Linked DNA regions of Homo sapiens: all the other regions are linked to region 2. The links are contacts of gene promoters, found by promoter capture Hi-C in blood cells and fetal thymus (Javierre and others, 2016). All regions are on one chromosome and are shown on one strand. Each heading gives the region's core, a stretch centred on a gene start or on the middle of the fragment in contact. The rest is flanking DNA. Distances are from core to core; before and after follow the strand shown.

Evidence for each region. The method cuts DNA at HindIII sites, captures the fragments that hold promoters and counts their contacts. A CHiCAGO score of 5 or more calls a contact.
Region 1: a contact is called between a fragment that was not itself captured here and the fragment with the promoter of RUSC1 in region 2, in 4 of 17 cell types (endothelial precursors, M2 macrophages, M1 macrophages and 1 more). The highest score is 7.4, in endothelial precursors.
Region 3: a contact is called between a fragment that was not itself captured here and the fragment with the promoter of RUSC1 in region 2, in 2 of 17 cell types (endothelial precursors and erythroblasts). The highest score is 7.0, in endothelial precursors.

Annotation. Positions count from the first base shown.
Region 1 is chr1:155,537,765-155,542,010 of GRCh38, forward strand. All of the region lies in intron 1 of ASH1L (ASH1 like histone lysine methyltransferase), which reads right to left. Among named protein-coding and RNA genes, the nearest start is that of ASH1L-AS1, 22 kb to the right of the region's middle. RefSeq lists a silencer at 3,057-3,106. The HindIII fragment of the contact is 4,484 bases long and covers 1-3,970 here.
Region 2 is chr1:155,318,802-155,323,163 of GRCh38, forward strand. RUSC1 (RUN and SH3 domain containing 1) reads left to right here and starts at 2,093. Exons shown (of 10, transcript NM_001105203.2): 1 at 2,093-2,190; 2 at 2,887-4,329. The coding sequence starts at 2,973. It overlaps FDPS (farnesyl diphosphate synthase), which reads left to right. Exons shown (of 11, transcript NM_002004.4): 8 at 55-127; 9 at 810-887; 10 at 993-1,127; 11 at 1,608-1,864. The coding sequence ends at 1,808. It overlaps RUSC1-AS1 (RUSC1 antisense RNA 1), which reads right to left. Exons shown (of 6, transcript NR_145424.1): 2 at 3,442-3,636; 3 at 2,824-2,894; 4 at 1,002-1,131. RefSeq lists silencers at 2,035-2,184, 4,165-4,362 and an enhancer at 2,800-3,783. The HindIII fragment of the contact is 14,544 bases long and covers 1,974-4,362 here.
Region 3 is chr1:155,472,839-155,477,404 of GRCh38, forward strand. All of the region lies in intron 3 of ASH1L (ASH1 like histone lysine methyltransferase), which reads right to left. Among named protein-coding and RNA genes, the nearest start is that of ASH1L-AS1, 87 kb to the right of the region's middle. The HindIII fragment of the contact is 754 bases long and covers 1,482-2,235 here.

The sequences.
Region 1 (4,246 bases), core at 479-2,978, 220 kb after region 2:
GTAAACTGAACTTCACCAAAACTATAAACTTCTGTCCTTCAAAAAGGCAGTACTAAGAAAATGAACACAAGACACAAACTACTACAGGTTACTGTGATAGTACACATTCCTGCCACCTCTCTGGAAGCCACTCCTGAGTCTTATCTGCTGATCTGATTTGGCCTACCAGACTTCCAGATGTTGGAATTCCTTAGGTTCAGTCAGTCTTTTCTTTCTCTAAAATATTTTGGCATTTTTTAAATTTTTTAATTTTTATTTATTTTTTATTTTTATTTTTGGAGATGGAGTCTCACTCTGTCACCCAGGCTGGAGTGCTGTGGCACCATCTTGGCTCACTGCAACCTCTGCATCCTGGGTTCAAGTGAGTCTCCTGTCTCAGCCTCCAAAGTGGCTGGGACTACAGGTGCGCATCACCAGGCCAGGCTAATTTTTGTATCTTTAGTACTTATATTTTGCATTTTGGAGATGGGGTTTCACCATTTTGGCCAGGTTGGTCTTGAACGTCTGACCTCAAGTGATCTGTCCACCTCAGCCTCCCAAAGTGCTGGGATTACAGGCATGAGCTATGGCACCTGGCGTTTTTTTGTTTGTTTGTTTGTTTGTTTGTTTTTGAGATGGAGTCTCACTCTGTCACCCAGGCTGGAATGCAATGGCGCAATCTCGGCTCACTGCAACCTCTGCCTTCTGGGTTCAAGCGAGTCTCCTGCCTCAGCCTCCCGAGTAGCCGGGACTACAGGAACGCACCACCACATCCGGCTAATTTTTTATATTTTCAGTAGAGACAAGGTTTCACTATATTGAACTCCTGACCTCGTGATCTGCCCGCCTCGGCCTTCCAAAGTGCTGGGATTACAGGTGTGAACCACTGTACCCAGCCTTTTTTTTTTTTTTTTTTTTTTAATAAAGACGGCTCTATCATCTGGCCTGGGGTACAGTGGCATAATAATAGCTTACTGCAGCCTCCAACTCCTGTGCTCAAGGGATCCTCCCACCTCAGCTTCCCAAGTAATAGGGACCATAGGCATGTGCCACTGCACCTGGCTCCTACTCTAGATTCTTTCCCTGTGTAATTTATTATACTACTTAAGACTTTTAAGCTCCAGACAGTATATCTGAAACCTGGTTCAATATCTTTACAAAGTTTAATCCTCCTCCAATCTTTCCCATTTCAGTACCACCAATTGCTCAAGTCAGAGCTACTACTAGTCAAACTACTACAGGTTACTATGATAGTACACATTCCTGCCACCTCTCTGGAAGCCACTCCTGAGTCTTATCTGCAGATCTGATTTGGCCTACCAGACTCCCAGATGTTGGAATTCTTTAGGTTCAGTCAGTCTTTTGCTTCTCTAAAATCTTTTGGTATCTTTTTAATTTTTTAATTTTTATTTTTTATTTTTTGAGATGGAGTCTCACTCTGTCACCCAGGCTGGAGTGCAGTGGCACTCATCCTGACTATTCTCACTCCCTTATTGTCAACCTTCAACCTAACACCAAAACTTCTGAATGTCACATAAATAATCTGTGATTACATAGAGTTCCTCTCCAATTCTCCCACTGACTTGTCCAAAAAAACCAACAATTCTCACCCAGAATATAGCAACAGCCCTCTAACTTCTTTGTACATCTACCTTGCTCTCCTCCAGCCCAAGCTACATCCAGAAAGGTGTTTTATTTTATATATATATATATATTTTGTTCTTGTTCTTTGAGAAAAAATCTTGCTCTGTCACCCAGGCTGGAGAGCAGTGGCACGATCATAGTTCACTGCAGTCCCAACCTCCTGGGCCCAAGCAGCCTTAGCCTCCTGAGTAGCTGGGACTACAGGCACACACCAACCATGCCCAGCCAATTTTTTATTTTTGTAGAGACAGCATCTTGCTATGTTGCCCAGGCTGGTCTCGAACTCCTGGGCTCAAACGATCTTCCAGCCTCGGCCTCCCAAAGTGCTGGGAATGCAGGCGTGAGCCACTAGAGATTGTTTTTCTCAAAGGCCCAGTGGCTCATGCCTGTAATCCCAGCACATTGAGGCCAAGGCAGGAAGATCGCTTGAGGCCAAGGCAGGACGATCGCTTGAGCCCAGGATTTTGAGACCAGCCTGGGCAACACAGCAAGACCTCATCTCCACTAAAAATAAAAAATAAAATAAAAAATCAGCTAGGTGTTGTGGCACACCCACCTGTAGTACCAGCTACTCAGGAAGCTGAGGTGGGAGGATTCCTTGAGCCCAGGAGGTCAAGGCTACAGTGAGCTATGATTGCACCACTGACTCCAGCCTGGGTGACAGAGCAAGACCTTGTCTCAAAAAAAAAAAAAATTCTGATAATGTAATTTCCCTGCTTAAAATCTTTGAATGTTTTCTCACTGCCCTTCATATATAAAAGTCCCTAATCACACTCATAACTTGCAACTTACAATCTGCAGCATGGTTTGGTGGTTAAGAATATAGTCTCTGAAGCCAAAACACAGTCTCAGAAGCTAGTCCTGCTATATTAATTTTGTGCAAAGTACTCACGGCCTCAGTTCTCTCAAATGTGAATAGAAATTGTTGTAAGGGTTCAATAAACTAATATATGAAAAGTACTTAGAACAGCACTTCACAGTATCACTGTTTACTTTTTGTTGTTGTTAACTGCCCCTACATATCTCTGGCCTCACCATTCCCCACACTGTTGTGAGCAGAGCAAGAGCAAATAACCACCACCAAAAAAAAGCAAGCACTCAGCTGGGTGCAGTTACTCAAACCTGTAATCCCAGCACTTTGGGAGGCCAAGGCAGGCAGACTGCTTGAGTCTAAGAGTTTGAGATCAGCCTGGCAACACAGCAAAACCCCATCTCTACAAAAAATGCAAAAATTAGCTGGATATGGTGGCTCATGCCCATAGTCCCAGCTACTTGGGAGGCTGAGGTGGGAGGATCGCTTGAGCCTGGGAAGTCAAGGCTGCAGCGAGCTAAGATCACACCACTGCACTCCAGCCTGAGTGACAACACGAGACCCTGTCTTAACAACAACAACAACAGGAAACAACAAAAAAGCAAACACTCATACATCTGTGATACATGTGTTTGAAGCACTTTTCAGTTCCCAAATAACTGTTTTCCCTCCTTTAGAACATACAGTTAGTTCTCTCTGCCTGGAACTCTCTTCCAGCATCTTTCCATATGACTACTTCTCTTCCTTTCCATCTTAGTTTAAAAGTCATTCCCTCGGGGAGACATTTCCTATTCCCCTAGACTTGGGAGGCTGAGGCGGGAGGATGGCTTGAGTCTGGCAGATCACCCTGCTAAGTGCATATCCATACTATAAGTCTCTTAATATGCATTATACCAATTAAGTTATTTAATATCCATATCTTCCACTAGACCATGCATTACATGAGAATAAAAATCCTGTTTGCTGTATTCACTGCTACATCCTTAGCAAAGCACCTAGAACATAAAGGGCATTCAAAAAATATCTATTGAATGAGTAAACAAACATTAATTCTACATTTTAAAACGTGTATATAGATAAAAGAGAATAGGCAAAATGAAACTTAAAATATTAAAAATTGATATTTTTCTTTAAATATTATATAAATTTTTCAGTTTCTATAATTTAAAAAATAAGCACTATATACACCATGTAATGTGCTTTCCAAAGGTAAAAGAGTAACCCATGCCCTAATTAGTTTGAAGATATTTTACATGAAACTACTAAGTCACTAATATTATATAAGTCACTAAAATCACAAAAAAATTAGAATAGCTTCATGAAGTTACCAACAAAATTGGAAGCAATTTCTACAATATAAACTATACTTACAAAGTTAGACAAATTTTTTACTCAACTATAGAACCCTTCACTGAAAAGATGACAATCAGTAACCATTTCTAACTCTCAAAGTACTGATATCCAATAAATCTAGTTAGTTTCATATTTATGTACTCTATATATTTCTTCAATTTCAAGAAGCTGCTGATTTTAAGAAGCTTCATGAATCAATAACCATATTTTTAGGGGTGAGGGAGCACTACTAGATTAAATGTAAACATCAATTATGTTATTTCCTAATTTTAGAAATATTAAACTGGGAGGAAAGTATGCATCTCATGACCAAGAAAATACTGTATTATACCAACAAGTCCTTCTAGAAACTTAGAACAGGAAAGTGAAATAGACATAAATTTCCAATTACCAAGTCACAAGGGGAAAAGTAAGCCCCAGAAAGCAGTCCCAAGGCTAAAAATCTTGATGGAAAAATTA
Region 2 (4,362 bases), core at 843-3,342:
GGGCTCAGGATGTGCATTGCCCTCCTGAGGAGTTTCTCTTCTCCCCTTACTCAGGTACAAATCTATTGTCAAGTACAAGACAGCTTTCTACTCCTTCTACCTTCCTATAGCTGCAGCCATGTACATGGTGAGTGAGCCTCCTCACCCCTCTCTGCTCTGCTGATGGGGGCTTTTGGACAGCAAGGCATAGAGCAGAAAACGTGAACACTGCTACCCCTGGTGAAAAACTGTGTGACCTTGAGCAAGTCGGTCTCGCTCAGTCTCTTTCCTCAGCTGGGGATAAAATTCCTACTTCACAGGACTGTAAAGATTAAGCAAGGCAAGGGATATGAAAGTGCTTAGCACATAATAGGGGAACAATATATCCTGTATCTGAGTATGGATAGGAGTGTGGAGATCATCCAGGTTGAGAGGGAGAAGAGTGGATTAAAGACAGTCAGTGGGATTAAGTGTCTACCCTGACCTTGCTTCTCTACATTTCCTTTTCATCTTGAAAGAAGTTGGAGGTGGCAAAAATATTAGGAAGGTGGATCAGAATGACTTGGGGACTGACATTTGTGAGGGAAGAGACAGGCTGTGCACCTCTAGAATGGATTCATCTCTTTTATGACTCCCAGGAAGGCCTAGCCAAAAATAAGTGGGATTGAGGTTGGACCATCAGTCAGGACTGTCTAGGTCAGGGAAGCCAAGATGTCTGAAGAGAGAGGAAAGATTTGGGGCTGCAGTAGGGCAAGACCCCATGGGAGGAAGCAGCCAGGAAGATGCCGGCACCCCTGGGGTTTGGCTTATTAACCCCCCTTTCCCTGCAGGCAGGAATTGATGGCGAGAAGGAGCACGCCAATGCCAAGAAGATCCTGCTGGAGATGGGGGAGTTCTTTCAGATTCAGGTAAGAAGGCAGGAGGCAGTAGCAGAGAACAGGCACCAGCTTCACTCCTCCTCTGCCCAGGAACCTCATCCTTCCTCTTTTGCTGCCCTCCCCCTCCCTGCCCAGGATGATTACCTTGACCTCTTTGGGGACCCCAGTGTGACCGGCAAAATTGGCACTGACATCCAGGACAACAAATGCAGCTGGCTGGTGGTTCAGTGTCTGCAACGGGCCACTCCAGAACAGTACCAGATCCTGAAGGTGCCTGAGAGAGGGTGGTGGGTCCCTGAGTTGGTGGAAAGGGATAGAGCAGTGGTTCTCAACTAGAGGCAGTTTTCCTCCCGAGGGGACATTTGGCAATGTCAGCAGACATTTTTTGCCATTGTCATTACAACTCTGTGTGTGTGCATGTGGTACAGACATCTAGTTGGCAGGAGCCAAAGATGTTGCCAAACATGTAGTACACAGAACAGCTCCCCCAGACAGGATTATCTGGTCCCAAATTTCAATAGTGCCAAGGTGGAGAAACCCTGGAGTAGAGGATGCCTGGTATGAGGCAATATTTGGGATAGGGAAGGGAAGCTTGGGATTTTAGCTACGTAGAGACACTTGAAAATTGGAGGGAGGAAAGGAGTGGGTGGCTTTGGAGATGTTCTGGAATATGTGAATGAGGGGAGTGGAGGGGTCCTGGAGGCTCTGGGGAAGGCCAAGCCCGTTTTCCTGTCTTTCAACCTCTTCCAGGAAAATTACGGGCAGAAGGAGGCTGAGAAAGTGGCCCGGGTGAAGGCGCTATATGAGGAGCTGGATCTGCCAGCAGTGTTCTTGCAATATGAGGAAGACAGTTACAGCCACATTATGGCTCTCATTGAACAGTACGCAGCACCCCTGCCCCCAGCCGTCTTTCTGGGGCTTGCGCGCAAAATCTACAAGCGGAGAAAGTGACCTAGAGATTGCAAGGGCGGGGAGAGGAGGCTCTCAATAAATAATCGTGTAACCTTCTTGTGGTTCTGTTCTTGCTCGGCCCAGCCAGAGTCTGGCTCTTTCCAGAATGTGCAGGGTGGGGTGCTGGGAGGACTCGCTGCACGGAACCAGGACCCAGGGGCCAAAAGCTTAGGATATATCAAACCCTCTAGGTGGGTGACAAAAGACGCTAAACGCTGGGGGCGGGTCTGAGCTACGCCACGCCCATGCGCGAAGGGGTGCAGCTGCGCAGCGCAGGGTAGGTTGTGCTAGTGCCCCTCCCCTCCCGCTCTGTGCCCCGCCGGGCGGGGACCGTGGGAGCCGCGGACAAGCCCAAGGCCGGAGCGGTTCCAGGAGGACCCTGGTGAGGAGGGCTCGGCCCATGGGTGTAGACCGATGGACCTGGGCACGAGGGGCGGGGCAGGACAAGGGAGCAGGAGAAATGAATAGAGAAAGGGTGCGGTGGTGGCTGAACGATGGAGACGAATGCGGAGAGAATGGACATACCGCTGTTCCGAGGGGCGAGGGCGCAGGCTGGAGCCCGGCCGAGGCAGCCAGCAGATGCGGAGTTGACAAGCTGACGGCTGCTCCATCCTTTTCCTCTCCAGCCCCCACCCCTTTCCTGCATTCACCAGACAAACTCTGCGTATTGCCCCACCCCCATCCTCCACCTCCTTTCAGGGCATCTGGGTGGGTCTCCCTGGGTCCCTTCCTCTGGGAGTAAGGGGTAGGCTGGAGGGCAGGGCCAGATTGCGGCAGCAGGGACCTGGAGGTCCATTCTGGGCCCGGACCTCTTCCAGGCCCCCGCCCCCCTTCGGAGATCCAGAGCGCAGCCGCGTTCTCTGACCCTCCCGGCTCCATTCCCGGGGGGTTACATTCGACTCCATCTGCAAACACTGCAGTGGAAACTAATGGTCAGTCGATTGCGATTTGCATCTCATTGAAATATCTTCCAAAGCAGCCAGAGCCTTCAGGCCTGCTGCTGCCGTCAAGTCACCTCGGTGTCCTTCCCCGCAGCTCTTGTCCTCACTGGCCGGGCTTCACCACCTCTGTCTTCTAGGTCTGCACCTGTGGTTGCCAGGTAGGTGGATGTGAGAGACCCTACCCTTCTGGTTCTCTAGAAGCCATCCCATCGCCGCTAGCATCATGCTGTCCCCTCAGAGAGCTTTACTCTGCAACCTCAACCACATCCACCTCCAGCACGTCTCCCTGGGCCTGCACTTGTCCCGCCGTCCTGAGCTACAGGAGGGGCCTTTGAGCACACCCCCTCCTCCAGGAGACACTGGGGGCAAGGAGAGCAGGGGCCCCTGCAGTGGCACCCTGGTGGACGCCAATTCCAACAGCCCAGCTGTGCCCTGCCGGTGCTGCCAGGAGCACGGTCCGGGCCTAGAAAACCGGCAGGACCCGTCACAGGAGGAAGAGGGGGCTGCCTCTCCCTCAGACCCAGGCTGCTCCTCCTCACTCAGCTCCTGCTCAGATCTTAGCCCCGATGAGTCCCCTGTCTCAGTCTACTTGCGGGACCTCCCTGGTGATGAGGATGCCCACCCTCAGCCCAGTATCATCCCCCTGGAGCAGGGCTCCCCACTGGCTTCAGCAGGCCCTGGCACCTGCTCACCGGACAGCTTCTGCTGCTCTCCTGATTCCTGCTCCGGAGCTTCTTCTTCACCCGATCCTGGCCTGGACTCGAACTGCAACGCCCTGACCACCTGCCAGGACGTCCCTTCCCCAGGCTTGGAGGAAGAGGACGAGAGGGCGGAGCAGGATCTCCCTACCTCTGAGCTCTTAGAGGCGGATGATGGGAAAATCGACGCTGGGAAAACGGAGCCCAGTTGGAAGATTAACCCAATTTGGAAAATTGACACAGAGAAAACTAAAGCTGAATGGAAAACCACTGAAAACAATAACACTGGTTGGAAAAACAACGGGAATGTTAACTCTAGCTGGAAAAGTGAACCTGAAAAATTCGACTCTGGTTGGAAAACCAACACAAGAATAACTGATTCTGGCTCGAAAACAGATGCAGGGAAAATTGATGGAGGATGGAGAAGTGACGTCAGCGAGGAGCCGGTGCCCCACCGGACAATCACGTCCTTCCACGAGCTGGCCCAGAAGCGCAAGCGGGGCCCAGGGCTGCCCCTTGTCCCGCAGGCGAAGAAAGATCGCAGTGACTGGCTCATAGTCTTCTCGCCCGACACCGAGCTCCCCCCCTCGGGGTCGCCGGGCGGCTCCTCGGCACCTCCTCGGGAAGTCACCACCTTCAAGGAACTCCGGTCCCGAAGCCGGGCCCCAGCCCCGCCAGTCCCGCCTCGAGACCCCCCAGTTGGCTGGGCTTTGGTCCCGCCCCGGCCCCCACCCCCGCCTGTCCCTCCCCGAAGGAAGAAGAACCGACCTGGACTGCAGCCCATAGCGGAGGGGCAGTCCGAGGAGGGCCGGGCTGTCAGCCCAGCGGCTGGCGAGGAGGCCCCAGCCGCGAAGGAGCCGGGCGCGCAGGCCGGCCTGGAGGGTAAGAGGTCGCAAGAAGCGGGAGGAGGGCTGG
Region 3 (4,566 bases), core at 609-3,108, 150 kb after region 2:
AAAGAATCACATGTGGGCCAAAAGCTGACAGTTTTTTAAGCACTACTTTAAATACTGCAGTTCCTCAGAGCTACCCAAGGCTGTTTGTTTTTCACTCCCTATTCTCTCCCAAGGAAAATATCATTACTCTCATGATTATACATATAAAAATTCACAAAGGTATACAGTATGTTTTGTTATTGTATGTGTTTCTATATAGTTAAATAGCTCTTGTATCATTGATAAATACAAGAATGATACCAGAATATGGAAGTTGTATTGGTTAATACATGACTTTTAAAGCACATAAATATTTTGCAGGACAAAACTAGCAGCTGAACGAAGGAGTACACCAACACAAACTAAATGAAGAAAGCCATAAGCAATGTAGTTCTGTTCAAAATGTACATTCATCCACATTCTTCCTCTTGGCTCCTACTGGCAACAGACTTTTCTGCAAGTGTTTTTATTGTGTGGCTTCTCTCAATGTTTGTACAAAAGAAACAAACAGGTACAATACACTAGAACCAGCTATGTCTGGCATTGCTACATTTATCTACCAATGACATCCTTCTGTGCCTACAGTTGAGCAGCTTCAACCCTTCTTTATATCCCTACAAGCGACCTTCATCTTTTCCTGGAAGGTTAATGCCTATATTTATTGTAGTATTTCTATTTTTTTTTTTTTTTTTTGAGACAGAGTATCACTCTGCCAGCCCAGGCTGGAGTGAAGTGGCACGATCACAGCTTACAGTAGCAGCCTTGAACTCCCGGGCTCAAGTGATCAACTTGCCACAGCCTCCTGAGTAGCCAGGACTACAGGCGTATGCCATCATGCCCAGCTAATTTAAAAAACATTTTTCTGTAGAGATGGGAGGCTCCTATGTTGCCCAGGCTGGTCTTCAACTCCTAGGCTCAAGTGATACTTCAACCTCACCTCTCAAAGTGTTGAGATTACAGGCATTAGCCACCATTCCCAGCCTCTTTATTTATTAAGACATTTAGTCTTAACAATATATATACATATATTTTTTTTGAGACAGACTCTCACACTGTCATCCAGGCTGGAGTGCAGTGGCACAATTTCGGCTCACTGCAACCTCTACCTTCCAGGTTCAAGGGATTCTCCTGCCTCAGCCTCCCGAGTAGCTGAGACTACAGGCACATACCAGCACTGCTGGCTAATTTTTTTATTTTAGTAGAGACAGGTTTCGCCATGTTGGCCAGGCTGGTTTCGAACTCCTGACCTCAGGTGATCTGCCTGCCTTGGTCTCCCAAAGTGCTGGGATTACAGGCATGAGCCATTGTGCCTGGTCTAGTATGTCTTTTTAACTGCTGTTTTTGAAAATTATTACTTTTCTTGATGCTCTGCTTATAAAGTTGCACAGGTTTTTGAGAGTCTGTTCCTAACTTTTATTTCACCCAGAAGCCCTTTTTAGTGAATGATATTGCCTAACACAATTTTTCAAATACTCAGAGGAAATGCTCTTATCTCCAGGTCAAGCTTCTCTACTAAGCCTGAGAACTAGATACCCAACGACCTTCTCAAATCCTCCGCTTCAACGTTCAGACACTTCAAACTGTATGTATTAAAAAGTGGCTCAGAGTGGTGACTCAGGCCTATAATCCCAGCACTTTGGGAGGGCAAGGTAGGAGGGTCCCTTTGAGCCCAGGAGTTCAAGATCAGCCTGGGCGGCATGGCGAAACCCCATCTCTACAAAAATACAAAGAAATTAGCCTGGCATTGGTGGCTTGCACCTGTAGTCCCAGCTACTCAGGAGGCTGAGGCTGGAAAATGGCTTGAGCCCAGGAAACAGGTTGCAGTGAGCCAAGATCGTGCCACTGCACTCCAGCCTGGGCAACAGAGTGAGAGCCTGTCTCAAAAACAAAAGAAAAAAAAAAACTGTGTTCTCCTCTAAATCTGCTCCTCCTATAGTCTTCTCTCTCTTAGTGCATGTTATCTCCAATCTCCCATATGTTCAGACATAAGCCTGCCACTAACCTAATCTAAGCACCATCATGTTATCTAGACTACTGCAATTGCCTATTAACCAGTTTCCTTCAAATTATTTTTATCCTCTCCATCCAGTGTTCATGCAGAAGGCAAAATCATCATTTAAAAATGCAAACCTAAAATCAATACTCCTTTGTCTTTTGTTCTTAATATAAAATCCAAAATTCTTAACACATTGTTTGGTCTCTTCTTTTGCCACATTTCTCACTACTCTCTCTGTATTTCCTCTTTCACCACGATGAAGCTTTTTTCAGTTTATCCAATATCTAAACTCCTTCCCAACTGAGAATCTTAAAACATGTTCTTCACTGTGGCTTTTTTTTTATTTTTATTTTTTGAGATACAGTCTCACTCTGTTGCACTGGCGTGATCTGGGCTCACTGCAATCTCCGCCTCCTGGGTTCAAGCGATTCTCCTGCCTCAGCCTCCCAAGTAGCTGGGACTACAGGCACGTGCCACCATGCCCGGCTGATTTTTGTATTTTTAGTAGAGATGGGGTTTCACCGTGTTGGCCAGCTGGCCTCAAACTCCTGACCTCAAGTGATCTGGCCACCTCAGCCTCCCAAAGTTCTGAGATTACAGGCGTGAGCCACCGCGCCTGGACTTCACTGTGGCTTCTCATCCTTTAAGTCTCAACTTTTTATCCTCAGCCATAACTAGTAACTATCTAATTAGATCCCCTTCTGCCAGCCCTTTAATCTGTATCATAACACTCCATGGTATTAACTTTATAGCATTTTTCTCAATTAAGCCATTATTTATTTGCTTATCACTCTATGGTTTGTCTTCCTTCACTAAGCTGAAAATTATGAGGTCAGATATCAGGCATTTACTATTGTATATGCCAGTGACTAGAATAGTCCTGTATGTTTCAGGAATTCAACATATGAACCAGTAAATGAATGAATAATGAATGAGTCTGTTTATCCAGTTAAATGTTGCACATCTGCCAGGTCTCAGTTTAGGATCACCTTCTCAGGAAAGACTTCTCTGGGTTAGGCTCCCCATTTCATGCTGTACTCTCTCCCTTTTACAGTCCTTATCACAATTTTAACAACACGTAATGTGATTTTTTGTTTATTATCTACCTCCTCTACTATAATCTCCATGACTCAATGAACCTGTGTGCCTCATTCTCTATTATATAACAAGGGCCCACAAAGTAGAATGCCTGGTAAATACCTGATATTCAGTAACTATTACTGATTAAATAAACTATTTGTTGAATGGACCTAAGCATAAGACTTTTTCTCTCTTTACGTTGTTAAAAGCTGGCCGGGTGCAGTGGCTCAAGCCTGTAATCCCAGCACTTTGGGAGGCCGAGGTGGGCGGATCACGAGGTCAGGAGTTCGAGACCATCCTGGCTAACACGGTGAAACCCTGTCTCTACTAGAAATATAAAAAACTAGCCGGGTGTGGTGGCATGCACCTGTAGTCCCAGCTACTCGGGAGGGTGAGGCAGGAGAATCGCTTGAACCCGGGAGGCGGAGGTTGCAGTGAGCCGAGATTGCACCATTGCACTCCAGCCTGGGCAACAGAGCAAGACTCCGTCTCAAAATAAAAAAATGAATAAATAAATAAACACTGTTAAAAGCTAAGGAACACTCAGATTCTCCACTAAGTTTTAATTTTTCAAAAGTTCATGAATAATGAAAATCAGGAACAAAAACTCTTTGTATTCGAGGGGTTTATCTTTTCCCTAATACACAAGTCTTTTTTTGTTTTTTGTTTTTTTTTTAAGATGGAGTCTCGCTCTGTTGCCCAGGCTGAAGTGCAGTGGTGCTATCTCGGCTCACTGCAAGCTCCACCTCCAGAGTTCACGCCATTCTCCTGCCTCAGCCTCCCGAGTAGCTGGGACTATAAGCGCCTGCCACCATGCCTGGCTAATTTTTTTTGTATTTTAAGTAGAGATGGGGTTTCATCGTGTTAACCAGGATGGTCTCGATCTCTTGACCTCATGATCCGCCCACCTCGGCCTCCCAAAGCACTGGGATTACAGGTGTGAGCCACTGCGCCTGGCCTAATGCACAAGTTTTTAATCTTTTAGGGGAATAATAATAATAACTAATATTTGCATGCTTACTATGTGATTACTTTTCATAATACCCCTACAAATCCCATTATATAGGAGGTTTAGAGAATATACTGAGGTTTAGAGAATTTACTTGGAAAATCTGATGAAATTTTTCTAGATTATCACTAAAAAAGATGCACAAACATATATACCCGTAATTTTACTTACAACATCAGAGGGTTTATGGACTTCCTAGAGTTATTTTACAAACTCTTAGGCTTAAGATCTCTCACAAAGAACTTCTAATCTTTTATTCGAGTGGCAAATGCTTACTCTTTGTTTTCTATCTTCTCAATTCTTAAAAGGTGTATAATTAAGAGAGAAAAAGATGTACAATTCTTTCTAGATGTACAAATGCATTTTCCAGATTTCTTTTTTTTCTATCTAATTGAAGCAGCTTTTATGAAAACATCAAAAGGTATGCTGCAAAATGAAGTCTGTCTGAATGAATATTCAGTTAAATTTTACAATGCTGAAAATGTCCAATGTTTGAATTTTT